Linked DNA regions of Homo sapiens: region 2 is linked to region 1. The links are contacts of gene promoters, found by promoter capture Hi-C in human tissues and cell types (Jung and others, 2019). All regions are on one chromosome and are shown on one strand. The core of a region is centred on a gene start or on the middle of the fragment in contact, and the rest is flanking DNA. Distances in the headings are between cores, read along the strand shown.

Evidence for each region. The method cuts DNA at HindIII sites, captures the fragments that hold promoters and counts their contacts. A contact is called where the count stands out against the background at its distance.
Region 2: a contact is called between a fragment that was not itself captured here and the fragment with the promoter of ATOH1 in region 1, in 2 of the 25 tissues and cell types used here (H1 embryonic stem cells and hippocampus).

The regions. Positions count from the first base shown.
Region 1 is chr4:93,827,426-93,830,125 of GRCh38, forward strand. It overlaps ATOH1 (atonal bHLH transcription factor 1), which reads left to right and starts at 1,328. Exons shown (of 1, transcript NM_005172.2): 1 at 1,328-2,700. The coding sequence starts at 1,502. The coding sequence ends at 2,566. RefSeq lists an enhancer at 1-150. The HindIII fragment of the contact is 12,246 bases long and covers 1-2,700 here.
Region 2 is chr4:94,199,191-94,201,890 of GRCh38, forward strand. All of the region lies in intron 1 of SMARCAD1-DT (SMARCAD1 divergent transcript), which reads right to left. Among named protein-coding and RNA genes, the nearest start is that of SMARCAD1-DT, 7.0 kb to the right of the region's middle. The HindIII fragment of the contact is 3,236 bases long and covers 1-2,700 here.

The DNA of each region.
Region 1 (2,700 bases), core at 78-2,577:
CCCGGAGCCAGAGCCAGGGCGCGCTGGGCGCAAGCTGGGGCGCGCCCAGGGCCAATGAGCTTCTGATTGGCTCTTTGCTGTGAATAGACTAGGCCGAGGCTAATAGGACCGGAGGGGGCGTTCACCTGGGAATTGGCCTCCCCCCCTTGCCAAGGACCTCCCTGATTGTATGGGGCGGAGTGGGGTGGGGGTGGGGGCTGGAAAGGGGAAGCCCACCCTAACTAAACGGAGGGGCGGGAGGAGGTTAAACTGAGGAAGCCACGAGCCCGCAGTAAAGAGAGGGCGATCGAGGCAAAAGGGTAGGTAACTTGGGACTTCTGTGCCTTGAAAGTGTTAAGGATTGCAGGGAATGCAGGCGCCTTTCATTTTACTTTGGGCACCCTCCCCTGGCTGGGCATTTAATGAGGAGTCCTACTGTGTGTGTTGAAACTCTGCATAATACCGTAAAATATTCTGGCCCTAAATTACACTCAACGGAGAGATTTAGGCAGATTACAATCCTAATTGGCCGCAGGGTGCTGGGGAAAGGGGACAGAGAGAATTGGGGGATCTGGAATTTGGTGTGCTATCACTACACCGCAGCTCTATTTTCCATTAAGAAAAAGATCATATGACGAAGTCGAACTAAGAGATCTGAAGTAAAAAATGAAAAGATGGAGCAAAAGTAAGAAACATACTCTGAGACGAGTGGGTTTTCCCCCTTTATTCCAACAGCAATCTTAAATGATGGACGTCATGTAGCAGTTATATATCTATGAACATGCATGAGAGATTTATAAATACCTGCATACATAAATACAAACATCCTATTATACATGAGAAATCGTAAATGCTTGGGCATCAGAAGTGGGAGCTGTGATCCTAGCTTGGGGGCAGCACAGGGTAGGCGGCCTTCTCTCTGCTTTGAGTGGCTTCTGGGCGCCTGGCGGGTCCAGAATCGCCCAGAGCCGCCCGCGGTCGTGCACATCTGACCCGAGTCAGCTTGGGCACCAGCCGAGAGCCGGCTCCGCACCGCTCCCGCACCCCAGCCGCCGGGGTGGTGACACACACCGGAGTCGAATTACAGCCCTGCAATTAACATATGAATCTGACGAATTTAAAAGAAGGAAAAAAAAAAAAAAACCTGAGCAGGCTTGGGAGTCCTCTGCACACAAGAACTTTTCTCGGGGTGTAAAAACTCTTTGATTGGCTGCTCGCACGCGCCTGCCCGCGCCCTCCATTGGCTGAGAAGACACGCGACCGGCGCGAGGAGGGGGTTGGGAGAGGAGCGGGGGGAGACTGAGTGGCGCGTGCCGCTTTTTAAAGGGGCGCAGCGCCTTCAGCAACCGGAGAAGCATAGTTGCACGCGACCTGGTGTGTGATCTCCGAGTGGGTGGGGGAGGGTCGAGGAGGGAAAAAAAAATAAGACGTTGCAGAAGAGACCCGGAAAGGGCCTTTTTTTTGGTTGAGCTGGTGTCCCAGTGCTGCCTCCGATCCTGAGCCTCCGAGCCTTTGCAGTGCAATGTCCCGCCTGCTGCATGCAGAAGAGTGGGCTGAAGTGAAGGAGTTGGGAGACCACCATCGCCAGCCCCAGCCGCATCATCTCCCGCAACCGCCGCCGCCGCCGCAGCCACCTGCAACTTTGCAGGCGAGAGAGCATCCCGTCTACCCGCCTGAGCTGTCCCTCCTGGACAGCACCGACCCACGCGCCTGGCTGGCTCCCACTTTGCAGGGCATCTGCACGGCACGCGCCGCCCAGTATTTGCTACATTCCCCGGAGCTGGGTGCCTCAGAGGCCGCTGCGCCCCGGGACGAGGTGGACGGCCGGGGGGAGCTGGTAAGGAGGAGCAGCGGCGGTGCCAGCAGCAGCAAGAGCCCCGGGCCGGTGAAAGTGCGGGAACAGCTGTGCAAGCTGAAAGGCGGGGTGGTGGTAGACGAGCTGGGCTGCAGCCGCCAACGGGCCCCTTCCAGCAAACAGGTGAATGGGGTGCAGAAGCAGAGACGGCTAGCAGCCAACGCCAGGGAGCGGCGCAGGATGCATGGGCTGAACCACGCCTTCGACCAGCTGCGCAATGTTATCCCGTCGTTCAACAACGACAAGAAGCTGTCCAAATATGAGACCCTGCAGATGGCCCAAATCTACATCAACGCCTTGTCCGAGCTGCTACAAACGCCCAGCGGAGGGGAACAGCCACCGCCGCCTCCAGCCTCCTGCAAAAGCGACCACCACCACCTTCGCACCGCGGCCTCCTATGAAGGGGGCGCGGGCAACGCGACCGCAGCTGGGGCTCAGCAGGCTTCCGGAGGGAGCCAGCGGCCGACCCCGCCCGGGAGTTGCCGGACTCGCTTCTCAGCCCCAGCTTCTGCGGGAGGGTACTCGGTGCAGCTGGACGCTCTGCACTTCTCGACTTTCGAGGACAGCGCCCTGACAGCGATGATGGCGCAAAAGAATTTGTCTCCTTCTCTCCCCGGGAGCATCTTGCAGCCAGTGCAGGAGGAAAACAGCAAAACTTCGCCTCGGTCCCACAGAAGCGACGGGGAATTTTCCCCCCATTCCCATTACAGTGACTCGGATGAGGCAAGTTAGGAAGGTGACAGAAGCCTGAAAACTGAGACAGAAACAAAACTGCCCTTTCCCAGTGCGCGGGAAGCCCCGCGGTTAAAGATCCCCGCACCCTTTAATTTTTGCTCTGCGATGGTCGTTGTTTAGCAACGACTTGG
Region 2 (2,700 bases), core at 161-2,660, 370 kb after region 1:
TTGTCAGAATTTCTTAATGTGAAGCTCACAGAGCACGAAGCGTTCCATGAGCCCCCTGAAATTATGTGCCACCTGTCATGTGCATATGTAGTTTTTTTTGGAAGGGGTTTGTGACTTTTTAAAATTTGGATTCCTAAGAGAGATTTATAACCATGCCCTCTACCTTCCCAAATTAAGAATCATTACTCTACTTAAAGAAGTATTTGCTTACGAATTGGTAATATTTGGCTTACTTTCTTGTTACCAAGGAAGAAAGTTGTTTTTTAGTTTTATGACTTGGTATCTTGTCTTTTCCATTTTATATTCATGTGTGGGAGGCAAGATTAGTTTACACAAGTTTCCATTACCAACCAGGTGTGGTTTACATTTCTAAGATACCAAGTTAAGAAAGGATCCAAGTTTACAAATCTCATTTTTAATCTCTGTTGCTGTTCGTTTTTTTGTTTGGTTTCTTAATCAATTCAGTTCAATTTTGGAAGGGCTGCTCCTTCCTCAAATTGCTTCATGGTTTTATTTTGGTAAGTATGAAGCAAAAAGAAATAACAATAAAATTCCCACAGTCTTTTCTCCTATTTAAGAAATTTGAGGATTCTATCAAACATTTTCACTGAGCCCATTAAAAACTAACAGGTAATTAAAATGATTCTTGCAGCCATACATAAGTACTTTAATTTAAAAAGTGAATTCTGTGGGGCATGGTGGCTCACACCTGTAATCCCAACACTTTGGGAGGCTGGGGTAAGAGGATTGCTTGAGTCCAGGAGTTCAAAGCCAACCTGGGCAACAGAGCGAGACACCATCTCTAGAAAAAATACAAAAATTAGCTGGATGTGGTGGTGTGCAACATTAGTCCCAGCTACTCAGGGGACTGAGATGGGAGGATCTCCTGAGTCTGGGAAGGTCGAGGCTACAGTGAGCCATGATCACTGTACTCCAGCCTGGGTGAGAGTGAGACCCTGTCTAAAATAATAACAATAATAAAAGAATAGAAAAAGAATAAAAGAAAGGTGAATTCTATCCCCATAGGGACCCTTGAAGCAATATCTTATTCTAACCACATTTGAGTTGCCCTGCTGACAAAATTCTATTTTATGGTCTATATTCTAGGAAGTTTCTCTTAATGGCCATGTTTAATCCCATAAAGCCCTTTAACAAAAATTAGAAATAATGATGCTTTTCTATGATTCAGTAGCTATTTCTAAAGAAGAGATGCCTTTAATCTCATTTACACTCCTGAGAAAGAAGAATTAGACACTATTGTGGGAAATAATTATTCTGTAAAAGAAGATAGAGAAAATGTAAGGACACAAAGTATATTAAAAGGTGATTTTTAGACTGAACTACTCAAAACTTGACAAAAAGAGCATAAGATTTTCAGGCAGTTTTTGAGTATAGGGATTTTAAGATAGAAAAAAGAAAACATTTTAATTTTAACTGGAAGAATTGGTACACTCAAGACAAAAATGTAGAAAATATTTGGATATGTTTCAATTATCTAATACTGCATGACAAACTACTCCCAAAATTTAGTGGCTTAGAACAATAGCCATTTTTTTATATCTCATGATTTTGTAAATGAGCCAGGCTTGCTAAGTAATTCCAATTTATAGTTTTTTTCTCATTTGCTAGTTGGAATACTTTTATAAAGAGACACTTTCCCTTACCTCTTCTTCAATTATCTAGTAGAAGCCTTCAAAGAGTAAAGACAGGATAAAGCTTAATTCTTTCCATCTGTTTATCAGTTTTCACGATAATAAATTGTTTTCCTTTCATCCTCCAAAGTCAACCAGTTTAAAAAAAAATCAGTAAGAACTCCTGGATTTCAACATATTTGATGGCTTTCAAATCACTGCAATTTTTAATCACATTGAAGCTCAAACTGCCCCATCTTTGGCCAGTAGGAACCTCAAGTTGACCTCTGAATCTTTTTGACATGGTATTAGTGGTCTTTGATAATTTCCTTGCTTTTTGGTATAGGAAGATATTTCAGTCTCACCTTGTGCATTTTCCATTGCATACTGTAATCTGCTCTTTTTCAAAGAAGTCCAGGTTTCTGTTAGCAGTAAATGATATTCAAAGATTATGATCATGGTACTAGGGCTGTGTACTGGGCTAGTCACTTCCTAGGCCTTTTCGGTGGACAAAGATGGAAAACAAACACACATTGTGTCTGTGTGTGTATCACATCTCATAAGTTCATATTGATATTTCCAATTCAAATAAAAGACCATTCCACTTGCGCTGTAGGGTTTGTACTATAACCTCTCTCTATTATATCTCTGTTTCCTTTCTTCTACTCTGAGAATTGTGGTTCTCGAAAAAAAAAGAAATAATTAGAATATAATTATTAATTTGTTTTACCCAACAATATACACACATTGGTCTCAGGATAGCAACACTAAATACACTTCAACTGTTTTACTGAAAACCAGTTAAACATTTTTTTCATATGTTCCTATCATTCTTTGCCTTTTAGGAGGTGAACATTGACAGATCATATAACCATTATAAACTGTACTGTCTTTCTTTTAAACATCATATTATCTTTGTTCTGCAATAGTTAATGCTCAATACATATCCTTACAACATTGTCTCTATAGACATTTTGGTTTTGTGAAGCTTATTCTCTGATAGATACCTCAGTAGTACTCATGGAAACAATACCCACAGAATTCTTACCTGATGTTAGTAGTGTGTTTG